3 separate regions of the Homo sapiens genome follow, and all the other regions are linked to region 2. The links are contacts of gene promoters, found by promoter capture Hi-C in human tissues and cell types (Jung and others, 2019). All regions are on one chromosome and are shown on one strand. The core of a region is centred on a gene start or on the middle of the fragment in contact, and the rest is flanking DNA. Distances in the headings are between cores, read along the strand shown.

Evidence for each region. Contacts are between HindIII fragments. The study calls those that stand out against the background at their distance.
Region 1: a contact is called between a fragment that was not itself captured here and the fragment with the promoter of VWA2 in region 2, in 1 of the 25 tissues and cell types used here (bladder).
Region 3: a fragment that was not itself captured here is called in contact with the fragment with the promoter of VWA2 in region 2 in 1 of the 25 tissues and cell types used here (thymus).

The regions. Positions count from the first base shown.
Region 1 is chr10:114,517,074-114,521,323 of GRCh38, reverse strand. The region is part of intron 6 of ABLIM1 (actin binding LIM protein 1); the gene reads left to right. Among named protein-coding and RNA genes, the nearest start is that of AFAP1L2, 110 kb to the right of the region's middle. RefSeq lists an enhancer at 1,897-2,416. The HindIII fragment of the contact is 5,622 bases long and covers 1-4,250 here.
Region 2 is chr10:114,237,261-114,241,817 of GRCh38, reverse strand. VWA2 (von Willebrand factor A domain containing 2) reads right to left here and starts at 2,564. Exons shown (of 14, transcript NM_001272046.2): 1 at 2,249-2,564. RefSeq lists an enhancer at 1,945-2,653. The HindIII fragment of the contact is 6,749 bases long and covers 1-4,557 here.
Region 3 is chr10:113,808,609-113,813,059 of GRCh38, reverse strand. No RefSeq gene overlaps it. Among named protein-coding and RNA genes, the nearest start is that of MIR4483, 33 kb to the right of the region's middle. The HindIII fragment of the contact is 8,663 bases long and covers 1-4,451 here.

The sequences.
Region 1 (4,250 bases), core at 584-3,083, 280 kb before region 2:
GCAAGTAAGTAAACTGAGGCCCAGAGCAGTTGCCGAAAGGCGTACAGATGATTACTGCAGGGCCAGGAATTGAATACAGATTTCTTCTTGGTAGCGCAGATTATACAGCCTTTCTTTCCTCCTCATCAGGTGTCCAGTGCCTGACCCACAGGTTCATCACAGGCTTTTGCCAAATGAATGAAACCTAAGACCTCACCTCCTCCCTTCTCATCCCTATTATTTGAGCTTATACATATTATTTATACTATTTATAAACATAAACATGAGCCTATCAGTTCATAATCCAGTGACATCTCTAAGGATAACTAGCTGCTGTATCTTAAGTCACTTATTTTTATTGTTTTTTTAGAAACAGGGTCTCACTCTGTTGTCCAGACTGGAGCACAGTGGCACAGTCATAACTTACTGCAGCCTCAAACTCCTGGGCTCCAGAGATTCCCTGCCTCAGTCTCCTGAGTCCCGGGACTACAGGTGCATGCCATCATGCCCAGCTAATTTTTTTTTATTATTATTTTTTAGAGACAGGGTCTCACTATGTTGCCCAGGCTGCTCTCTTAACTCCTGGCCTCAAGTGGTCCTCCTGCCTTGGCCTCCTGAAGTGCTGGGATTACAGGCATGAAGCACCACACCCAGCCTACGTCATTTTTCTTTCTTTCTTTTTTTTCTTTTTTTAACCGATAGGACGTCATTGATTGCTTAAACCCTCTCATTCTTCTTATGTAAACAAATCTATTAGTCAAAAGTTAAGCAGCTGCTGAGTCACATGGCACTTTAATCCAGGGTTACAATTGGCAGCCCTGGGAATGAGTTCTCCTTTTTTTAGCTCCCACGATGGCACTGATTTCCCCTAGAATATGAAACTTACACCAAGGAAACCACCATGACAACTGTAGGTAGCAATTTCAAGCAGAAAAGACTAGGAAAATGCCTAAGAATTTTAAACCTGACAGAGTTCTTCTACATTTTTAATATAACCAAGTGCTGTTCATCACCTGCCTTGACACCGGTGTTTGTGAGGTTGATTGGCCCCAGGATGTTCCACTGCAGAACAGAAGGCCAAGATCAGAAGCCCTTGTCGACATATAAATGTAATGCTGTAAGCTGGCTTGGAGCTGTGACTCCATGGAGCCAATTCTAAAATGATTAAGACTTCTGTCTATAGAGAGTTGAGGTGGAGACTGTTTACTATGGCCCTGCCCAGAGGCTTCAGCAGCTGAGGGTGTACCCTCTGCAGTGGGAGTCTTCAGGCATGAGCCTGAAGCCTGTGCTGGCCTCTAGGGATGGAGTCCCTTGTTGTCTTACAGCTTGAATTTTCCAGCACAGGACAACTCCAGATGACAGCTCCAACAGGGCAGAGGCTGCAGCCTTGCCAGACTGGTCCGTCAAAGCTTTCCTTGGCACATAATCCAGTTTCACCCAGGTTTGGGGGTAACCCAGCTGGTTCCTTTTTTCCTGGGTTGGTGGTGAGCTAAGCAGGGAGGTAGTACCCACAGGTTATTTATGGATGTCAAAAACTCAAAAGGCCCTCAGCACTGGGGGTAGGACCAGTGAGAAGTGCTCAACCATGGCATGTATGAGGGATCTGTGGGCGAACCCTGATGTGTCATTTGGCTCCTCTATCCATCACAAAGAGCAGGGACCCCTGAACCCTTTAACCATCCCTGAGCAAGATTGGAGGGATTTTTGCCCTTTTAATACAACTTCTTAAATGGCCTGATGGCCTTGGATGTACTCATTAATAAATATGTCTTGTGGTTTGCAATTTAACTGTCTGTGTGATGAGGATATTGGAAAGGAGTTTCTGACTGATTCATTGTTCACACTTGCCTCTCCCAGCCGAGGGATAATTGGGGCCTTGCCTAATCTGCACTCGCTCACACCCAACATGTGCTGGGCGGGGAAAAAAGGCTGCAACCTGGCCGGCTGGTTCCCGGACCTGGCCTTGCACCAACCAGGAAGATCTCTTCTCTACCTCCTTTTCTGTGTTCAAGGTGATACCTGCTTAGGACTCCCAGAAATATCATTAGCAGGAAAGTTCCACAGATTTAATCTAGTCTAAACCTCTGAGAGTTGAGGACACTGAGACCCAGAAAACCTGAGTGATTTTCCTAGGAACACACAGCCCATTGGTTAGTAAGGCAAAAGTAGACCTCAGAGCAGCTCAGTGCTTCTCTATCCCCTCTGCACCTCCCCCAGGCTGCCTCTTGAACTACTTCTCTGCTTGCTGTACAAACCAAAGCTATCTTTCAAAGTCTTTTGGAATATTAAAGCCATTACAGGGAGGCAGGGTGTGTGGGGATTGAGTAGATATTCAAAAGATTTTTGCTCAAACCTTTATTTCACTTTGTTTTTAAACAACTTCCCTTTCCCATGCCTATGGAGCTTTTCTTGTCTCATCCTAAAAACTCCCAAGTTCCCACCTGCTTCTAGGAAGATTGTTGATGATTGTCCAGGCATCCCCTGCCACTGTCTGAGCAGACAACTTCTAAAAGTTTTTTTTTTTAAGTAGTGTGAGCTCATCGTAAATAAATAAATGAATAACTGAGTAAGTACACTTGTTTGTACTTCTCTGAATCACATGTAATGGGCCAGATAGTACATATTTTCAGCCTTGTGGACTATGCTGTCTCTGTCTCAGCTACGTATGGGCTAAAGCAGACCTAGAGACTATGTAAATGAACAGACATGGTTCTGTTCCAATAAAGCTTTATTTACAAAAAACAGGTAGTGGGCCAGGTTTCACCTATGGGCTGCCAATCTTGGTATCAGGTAAAAAGTAAACATTCTCCACTTACTCCCTAAGCTTTATTGGCACAGGACCACGTCTGTTCATTTACATAGTCTCTAGGTCTGCTTTAGCCCATACCAGCCTTGAGTAGCTGAGACAGAGACAGCGTAGTCCACAAAGCTGAAAATATGTACTATCTGGCCCATTGCATGTGGTTCAGAGAAGTACAAAGAAGTGTACTTATTCAGTTATTTATTTACAATAAGCTCACATTACTTTAAAAAAACCCACTCCCAGAGGTAGCTATTGTTGAGAGTTGGGTCTATAGTGTCACTGGCATGCAGATACTTACAAATACGGGGTTGGATCATGTAAATTTTTTCATATAGGATGTAGAGTTCTGTATCTTGCTTTGCTCCTGTTTCTTGCACATAGATACCTGTGGGAGGGCATGTATTCTTTTATACAAATAGGACCGTTTTATGCATGTTGTTCTACAATTTCCTTCACTTGGCAGTAACTCAGTGTTGATGCTTATAGGATGATGACATTCTTTTTAATGACCACATAGTGGTAAAATCCTTTACCATACACTAAGAAAACATGACAAATACCAAAAAAAAAAAGTATGTGTGTAAATAACTACCAGCAGACACAGATGATGTCTTGTTCGTCTCACATGGTCCCATGTGTCTGGTGGGCACATCCACGGGGATCCATGTCAGCCCGTGCAGCGTTACTATGTTTCCAAAGGGGGTTTTGTTTCAGCCTAACTTTCTGCCAGCACAGCACCACATACAGGTGACGAGCTAATAAAAGATTTGCATGATGAGGAAGGTTTCAGACAAACTTTAGCTTCAACATTGTGGTTGATTATGAGGCAATTTCTGTGAAATCCTAAAAATCCCAAGTTTTTTGTCCTGCTGTGAACACAGTTTATCGCAAAAAAGTACAGACCCACATTGTACTGTGGCCCCCCTCCCCGCCCTTTAAAGTATGCGCTGTCGTTGATGCCTTGAATTCGTTCCTAAGGATATCATAGATCACCACAAACTTGGCAGCTCAAACATGACAGAAATGTATTCTGTCACATTTCTGGAGGCCTGAAGTTTGAAATCAAAGTGTTGTCGGTGTGGAGTGGGGGTTCTTCTGGGGGCTCTGCTGGAGGGTCTGCTTCATCCTGTCCCCTGGCTTCCAGTGCTGCAGCATCCTTGGTGCTGCGTGGCTTGGAGCTGCATCGCTCCAGTCTCTGCCTTCATCTTCATGTGGGTCCAGCTTGCCCTCTTGGTCAGTTTCCTTGTCTTGTCTGGTCCCGTCCTGTCCTGTATTTTGTAAAGACTTGTCATTGGATTCAGGGCCCACCTGAATCCAGGATGGCCTTCTCTCAACACCCTTACCTTAATTACATCTGCAAAGCAGGTTGGACATATCTTTGGGGGACCACAGTTCAACTCAGCCCATGCCCTCCCATCTAAAAATCGGAGTGCTTGCTCTTCCCTCTCAGGTTTTTCCTCCTGGAGGT
Region 2 (4,557 bases), core at 1,315-3,814:
TTTCATTTACTGATATATGCACTGCAAAAGTTTGAGGACCACTGTTCTAAAACAACCTCGTAGTGTTGCTGACCCTCTCATTGCTATAATTACATGAAATTTCATTTACCCAGTAAAAATTATTAAGCATCTGCCCTGTGCCCGGTACCCTTCCAGGTACTGAGGATGTGAGGACAATGCTTTGTAAGATGCACACACATCAGGGGAGTTATTAACAAAAAAGGCATTTTCACCACAAGCTTATGATGCCGTCACTGCCAAATAACTATTCTGTTTTTATGATGCTCATTAAAAAGCCAGGAGGGGAAATGTCAGTGTATATTACCGAGCGAAAGACACCAATCTGAGAAAGCTACGTACTACATGATTCCAATCATAAGACATTCTGGAAAAGGTAAAACTATTGAGACAGTAGAAAGATCAGTGATTACCATGTGTTGTAGGGAGGGTGGGATGCACAGAAGATTTTTACGGTAGTGAAACTATGCTGTTTGATACTATAATGGCAGATTTATGTCATTTTACATTTGTCCAAAGCCATAGAATGTACAACAGGAGCAAACCCCAGGGCAAACTGTGAACTTTGGGTCATAATGATGTGCCAGTGTCGGTTCATCAGTTGGAACAAATGTACCACTGCAGTGGGGGATGCTGACAATGGGGGAGTCTGTGCATAGGCGGGGACAGGAGGTATATGGGAAACCTGTACCTTCTGCTCAATTTTGCTTTGAACCTAACACTCTAAAACTGGGTCTCAGTTTCCTCATCTGTAAAAACATGGGCTTCTGACTATGATTCGGATATCCCAGGGGCTTGTGCCTATTGAAGAGAGGGGAAATACTGGCTGTAATCTCTGTACGGTAGACCAAAAACCAGATTTAATGAAAATACACTGATGGTTTTCAGCCAGAGATGATGAGGAAAGCAATCCTCTTCTCCAACCTGGGATTTGCCTGGGGACCTAGTCTGAGAAATTCTTACACTACTAGGAGATGGCTCTGGGCTGGATTTTACAAAAGAAGAGTAAGGCCTGAGGAGCTCTGAACCCCCATCAGTCACAAGAGAGGATGGCTTCAGCCTGCTGAAAGCCAGCAGCATTTACAAATTCATGCCTGTGGCTTTTGCCAACTCTAGTGGTACCTTTCTGACCTCTTCACTTCTCTGACTCTTCAATAAATCGACATTTCTTAATATAGTGTCACCTTAACAGCAAAAGAGACCTTGAATTTTTGGGACTGAATTTATAAAACACTTAGAGGTTCTGGGGTTTTACTTAAAGCAGCTTGTAATTTGAAAAATGTACACGTTCTAATTATTCCAATCTCCAAGACATCAAACACATGGCATGAGGTCCCCATTGCTAAGTCCCCTTTCAGCTTCAGCTGGAGCCCTTGATTCCACAATCACAAGCAGCAAGGTGCCCTCCTCCCTTCTCTTCTGTCTGGTGCCCCCAGCAAGTTTTCAAGGTTCAATTCTGAGACTCTCCCATTCACCGTCCCAGCAGGTGGCCAAGGGCCCAAGGCGGGAGGGAAAGGTCGGCTTAGCTAGGGAAAGTTTTGTTAGCCTTATTGGAAGGGAAGGAGACATGCAGGAAGCAGGGCTGAGCCAGGTGGGGGAAGTCACCAGAACGACAAACCCCTGGACTTCCCACTGCCCAAGCGCGAGGACTCTCGGGGCAGCCGGCCCCTCTCAGGTTCTGCTTGCAGACACTTCGCTGGGGGCACTCGTTCTGCCTGGGAAAACTGCCCCAAGTCCCCTTAACACCTGTGTATGTCCTGTAGTGGGGTGTGGGGTGGAAGCGAGCATGTCACCAAAGCCTTTATTCAAAGGGCGAGTCCCTTTCCGCGGCCGCCAGGGAAGGGGGCCCCGCTACTGTGCCAGGAGGGCAGCTTGGGTTTAATACATGCCCTCCTCCACCCCTGTACCCGGAGCCCCTACCCACTTACCTGCTGACCGCACCCCTCCCAAAACCCCGCCAGCTCGCCCGGGACGGACCGCGAGTGGCCACGAGGGAGGCGCGCGCCAGGTGCGCTCTTCCCCCGACGCCGCCGTGCCAGGAAGGCCGCGCTCAGGTGCGCGCAGACAATGCGAACAAAGCCCGCACCCTCGGCGGGGCCGCGCAGCCCGGGTGCTCTGGGTAGGGGTGGCTGGGCAGAGGGGGCCCCAGTACCGGGAGCGTGAATCGGTCATCGGCAGCCGGCACTGGCGGGTACCCGGGCGCCAGAGCCAACTCGGGGCTGGGACTCACCGGAAGGAGAGCGGCGACCAGCGCTCGGTGCCCGGGCGGCTCTACTCACAGACCCGGGCGCGGCTCGGGCCAGGGGGCGCTACGGGATCACAGGAGGGGCGCCCGGGGCGCGGCTGCCACGTGGGACACCTGTTTGTCTCTCCTGGGAGAGGGCGGCACGACCCGACCCGGCTGAGGTCGGAGGAACTACCGCCAGGGAGGTGCATAGAGCCCCTCGCGTTTTTTAAAGCGGCATCGGCCCAGGTCTGCAAATAAAAAAGTACTTCACTTCTACGCGGGTCACCCAGCCTCCGAGCGGTGCAGCCGCGAACACTGTGCCGTCAGCTGACTCCTCCACGGGCTTTATAGCTCCTTGAAAAAATGTTGACTTTGGCATCTTTTCTATTTGTCATGGCAATTGCCTTTTAATTACCTGTCCCTCCTATTGTTGCAGTTGGGTAATAAGCCGACCTTTTGGCCATCATCCTTGCTTAAGATTGGAGGGCGTTTGATTTTTAAAAAATCAAATGCCACAAAGCACAATGCTGAGCATGATGCTTTATATAAAGTAAGCTCTCAATGAACGTTGACTATGACTGCACAATCCATAATTTCCATACTTCATTTAAAAACTGCCAGAGCATGCCTGTTCATTGCAAAAAAAAAAAAAAGAAAAGAAATAACAGTAAAAAAGTTGATAAATCAATCATTTTCCAACACCCAGAGATAATCAGTTAACATTGTGGTGTATGTTCTTCCAATGTCATTCTACCTATGCAAAAATTTATATATTTTTAGTTCATTCCATACAAGCTGTACATTACTCAGGTTTTCCATTTCCTTTTTTTGAATGTCCGTTTTAAGCCACTTCATAATGTCCTAATGTACTTAACCTATCTGCTATTGTTGAATATTAAACTTTCCATTTTAATAATACAATTAGATGTCTTTGTGCTTTTGTCCAATTAATTCCTTAGAATAAACTACGAAAAGGTAAATTTCTAGGATACAGGTTTTATACAACTTAAGACTTTTGATGCCTATTATCTAATTGTCCTCAAGGAAGGTTGACCTGCTTCCTCTTTTCCATGCTCCTTCCCATTATTCTTGTAAATGTCAATCTGATAGGAAAATAATTTGCTTTACACCTTTCCTGTCTGTAGTTCTCAGTTAATTTCCAAACCTCCGACACTGACAGCTTCCAGTGAAAGTGGCCCGTGGTGACTTTAATGTTGCAAACCTCATTGAAGGAGGCTAGGAAAGGACTCATTTTTCCTGTAATTCATTTCTCCCAGTAACATTTACTGAGCACCCAAAAATAAAAACAGGGCCACACCAGAGCAGCAGACATAATGTACCACCACATCATCCCCACAGGGGACAGCAGTTAGTCTTGAGGTCTAACTGCTGGGGAGGGATGGTCTCTGCCTCTAGATCAGCATTGCCCCAGAGAAATACTGACCAAGCCACGTGTGTAATTTTAAATGTTCTAGTGGTCACATTTAATAAAAAGTGAAAAGAAACAGCAAGCTGGATTTCAGTATTAACCTAAACATCCGGAACATTATCTCAACATGTAATCAATAAAGATGTTTTATGCTGTCTTCAAAGTCCTGTTTTTTTGTTTTTTTTTTTTTTTTTTTTGTTTGAGACAGAGTCTCACTCTGTTGCCCAGGCTGGAGTGCAATGGCATGATCTTGGCTCACTGCAACCTCTGCCTCCCAGGTTCAAATGGTTCTCCTGCCTCAGCCTCCCGAGTAGCTGGGATCACAGGTGCACACCACCATGCCCGGCTAATTTTTGTATTTTTAGTAAAGACAGGGTTTTGCCATGTTGGCCAGGCTGGTCTCAAACTCCTGACCTCAGGTAATCCACCCGCCTCAGCCTCCCAAAATGCTGGGATCATAGGCGTGAGCCACCACGCCTGGCCAATCCTGTTGTATTCTATACTCACAAGCACATCTCAATTTGGACTCGCCACATTTTTAAGTGCTGTATAGTCAAATGGGGTGAGTGGCCTGTGCTGCTCCAGAGATGTCCAACAAGGGCAGACCCCAGGTCCTCAAGAAAGTGGAAATTCTACCTTTGACAACCCTCTCCCTGTACCCCTTATGCTGTTTAACAGGTACCAGCATACTTTGACCTTATCAGGCTTACCTTGGAGAAGCCAAATTTCAATCCTGGTTGTTCCTGAAGTATTTGGCATGTCTTTAATTGGGGGCGGGGGGGGGGGAGGTATTTCACATTTTCATTCTGTGATTATGAAGAACTGAAAGCATAAATACAGTGAAGATACCTGTTGCTTCAGACTTCTTCACATCAATGTATAA
Region 3 (4,451 bases), core at 471-2,970, 430 kb after region 2:
TTGGGAGTTTTTAACATGAAGGGATGTTGAATTTTTTCAAAGGCTTTTTCTGCATCTATTGAGATAATCATATAGTTTTTGTCTTTGGTTCTGTTCATGTGATGGATTACATTTATTGATTTGTGTATGTTGAACCAGACTTGCATCCAAGGGATGAAGCCAACTTGATTGTGGTGGATAAGTTTTTTGATGTGCTGCCGGATTCAGTTTGCCAGTATTTTATTGAGGATTTTCGCTTTGATGTTCATCAGGGATATTGGCCTGAAGTTTTCTTTCTTTGCTGTGTCTCTTCCCGGTTTTGGTATCAGGATGATGCTGGCTTCATAAAATGAGTTAGGGAGGAGGCTCTCCTTTCTCATTGTTTGAAATAGTTTCAGAGGGAATGGTACCAGCTCCACTTTGTATTTCTGGTAGAATTCAGCTGTGAATCTGTCTGGCCCTGGACTTTTTTGGTTGATAGGCTATTAATTACTGCCTCAATTTCAGAGCTTCTTATTGCTCTATTCAGAGATTTGACTTCTTCCTGGTTTAGTCTTGTTAGGGTGTATATATACAGGAATTTATCCATTTCTTCTAGATTTTCTAGTTTATTTGCATTATAGTATTCTCTGGTGGTAGTTTGTATTTCTGTGGGGTCAGTAGTGATATCCCCTTTATCACTTTTTATTGTGTCTATCTGATTCTTCTCTCTCTTCTTTATTAGTCTACTGGTGGTCTATCTATTTTGTTAATTTTTTCAAAAGACAGCTCCTAGATTCATTTGATTTTTTGGAGGGATTTTCATGTCTCTATCTCCTTCAATTCTTCTCTGATCTTAGTTATTTCTTGTCTTCTGCTAGCTTTTGGATTAGTTTGCTCTTGCCTTTCTAGGTCTTTTAATTGTGATGTTGGGTGTCCATTTAAGATATTTCTAGCTTTCTGATGTGGGTATTTAGTGCTATAAATTTCCCTCTTAACACTGCTTTAACTGTGTCCCATAGATTCTTGTACGTTGTCTCTTTGTTCTCATTGGTTTCAAATAACTTCTTGATTTCTGCCTTAATTTCATTATTTACCCAGGATTCATTCAGGAGCAGGTTGTTCAATTTCCATGAAATTGTGTGGTTTTGAGTGAGTTTCTTAATCTTGAGTTCTAATTTGATTGTACTGTGGTCTGAGAGACTGTTTGTTATGATTTCAGTTCTTTTGCATTTGCTGAGGAGTGTTTTACTTGCAATTATGTGGTTGGTTTTAGAATAAGTGCTATGTGGCACTTAGAAGAATGTATATTCTGTTGATTGGGGGTAGAGAGTTCTGTAGATGTCTACTAGGTCCACTTGATCCAGAGCCGAGTTAAAGTCCTGAATATCCGGTGGTGTGGGTTCACAAGTGGGCTCTTCTGATCTGTGGGTTGCACAGTTCCGTGAGAAAAGCACAGTTTTCCCTGCTGGGCAGCACGCTCACTCACTGCCTCCCTTGGCTGGGGGGAGGGGGTTCCCCTTCCCTGTGTGGCTCTCAGGTGGGCTGCCACACCACACTGCTCTTCCTTCCCTCTGTGGGTCACACCAGCTTCTAGTCAATTTTGATGAGAGAACCTGGATACCTTGGTTGTCAGTGAAGGATTCACACGCTTATTATGTTTTTTCCCAATGGGAGCCTGCAAATGCTGCTGCTTCTAGTCAGCCATCTTGGCCCTGTCCCCGGGCCATAGATATGATCACACAACTTCTAATTATTTAGTATTCTTTGAAAAGAGATATTGCTTAATCAGCCAGTATAGTAATGAAAGCTGTTGACTTAGTGTTCAGAGACTATAATTTAGGTAGGCCTGGTTCTGCCACTAACTTTGTGACACTGGGCAACTTAGTCCACTATCCTGCATCTCAGTTTCCTCCACTAGAATGAGAAGTAATTGATCTTAGGTCCTGCCTGGAAGATTCTATGAGTCTGTTAGCTTCATTGCTATTTTTTTTTTTCAAAGTATTGCATGGTTTGCCAGGGCTTGGACATGATCATATTTTTCAAGCTAATTATCACAATGGATGTATGCTATAATATTAAGATATGTCAGGTGAGAAAATGTTTTGAGCTAATATGTTTATTTTACTTATTAATATGTATTTATCTAATGCTTTTTGATATAATATATAAACAGCAGAACTGGCTGGGTGTAGTGGCTATGAGTTCAAGACCAGCCTGACCAACATGGTGAAACCCTGTCTCTACTAAAAATACACAAATTAGCTGGGCGTGGTGGTGCACACCTGTAGTCCCAGCTACTCAGGAGGCTGAGGCAGGAGGATCACTTGAACCGGGAGGCGGAGGTTGCAGTGAGCTGAAATCATGCCTTTGCACTCCAGCCTGGGCAACAGAGTAAGACTCTGTCTCAAAAATAAAAAGATAAAAAATAAAACAGCAGAACTTCCCCCAGCTTGGGTTTGGGGCCTGGAGGTACAACAGTGGAAGAATCAATCCCTCATGGTGGTGTAAAGTGTAAAATGGTTGTATTAACCATAAAATGAGGCAGTGAGCTGACAGCAACAGAGCAGCCCAGTAGTAAGTGAGTGAAAGAGTTTAGAGAGCACGGCACACTAACTCTTCAGCACTCCCAGGGTGAGCACACAGGCACTGAGCACATCCATCAATACAGATTATTCATTCTGACTAGCAATGTGTTGATACAAATACTTGGTGAAACCTATGTATCTTACATCAGTTGCCAAACAATGGCTTACAGTTCAGAACTGCAGTTTCCAGATTCAAGTTAGTGGTGTAACACATGAACAGCCTTTTAGCAGCCTATGGAATGTCTTTGGTGATTCCTGTTGGACAATAAACACACCGCAGTATCTGCTCCTCCCCTGCACGTAGAATAAATTGATGGCCCAAGAGACATGAACAGAAAGGATACATTTGAAGGTTTCATGTGGCTTTAGGGAGAATCGGAAGTTGAAACCTATAGAAGCTGAGTGACCCTGAGTAAGAACTGCTCATCTCCTACTCACAGGAGAGCGCTCTTTCATGCCATTCCCTGCCATGTACTCCAGATACCTTCTTTAGTCGTAGGAGAGCCAGGTTCCCAGATGGAAAATGGGTTAATTCCCTATCTGGCAAGTCCATCCAGGGGTCTGACTCCTAGTGAGGGCACAGAGGACAGAGCTATTCCACTTCTCGAAAAAAAAAAAAAAAAAAGAGTAGTTGTTAAAAGTTCTCTTTTCTCTCCCAGGACAGCACCTCTGACTACAAGGAGGTGAGTACAGACACTGCCGGGATTCAAACCCCACTGTTCATTGTTCACCCATTTTTTGCAACTCCTTTCTTCCCTTTCCAACAGCTAAATGTTCAAAAGACAATGAGCACTCCTTCCCTCAACCCACCCATTTATCCCTCAAGGGGTCCATGGAGATACTTTGTCACCCTTTCCTGGTTCAGTGAGAGAGATGTTGCTAACCGTCCGCTCAGATGACAGCGTCAAGACTAACAGGCAGCAGATTTGCTTCACCGACAAAAGAATGAAGGAACTTGTTTGTAAATAGTTTTGTCTGTGTTCACAATCTCTCTCTCTCTCTCTTTTTTTTTTTTTGAGATGGAGTTTCCCTCTTGTCACCCAGGCTAGAGTGCAGTGGCACCATCTTGGCTCACTGCAACCTCCACCTCCCGAGTTCAAACGATTCTCCTGCCTCAGCTTCCTGAGTAGCTGGGATTACAGGCACCCACCACCACTCCCAGAGTTTTTTGAATTTTTAGTAGAGACAGGGTTTCACCATGTTGGCCAGGCTGGTCTTGAACTCCTGACCTCAAGCCACCCGCCTCAGCCTCCCAAAGTGCTGGGATTACGGGCATGAGCCACCGTGCCCAGCGCACAATCTCTTAAATTAGTCTTGCTACCCTCCCATTCCCCAATGGCTCCTTCAAAAGCACTGCTCCCTTCCTAGGCTATGAGTTATACTCTGGGTGCTAATCCTGATAATCAGTTCCTAGAGGATACTACTGGGGCTGCCTGAGAATCTTGTGGCAGCCTCTTCCTTAGCTCCTGTGTGTGATGGCTTTGAACTTGTTTGAATGTAGTGGCACTCCACGGACTGCCACCTGTTTGCCTGTTCCTGTTATGGTGTATGGAGTGGGATAGAGAGCAATGCTCCTTTGCTAGGATCCAAGCAATGGTGCATTCCTGAATTTCTCCACTATTTTACGTCATGCCTATCAGATTCGTCTTGAAAAATAAGAAAGGTGATTTATTCCCAGCCAATTCCAGGACTCTGCAGAGAGTGGTCTCTTAAGTTCTGAGTCCTACCTTTAAGTTCTGCTAGCAGTAGAGACGTACCTACCTCATCTTCTTAAGAGTTTTGTGGCAGACTTCACTTCAGCCTCTGAAAAAGGAGATTGGATAAGGAGAGGAGAAAATAACATTTGCCCAAATGAACCAAAAAAGAAGAAGGAGGAAGAAAGGAAGAAGAAAGGGAAGAAGAGGA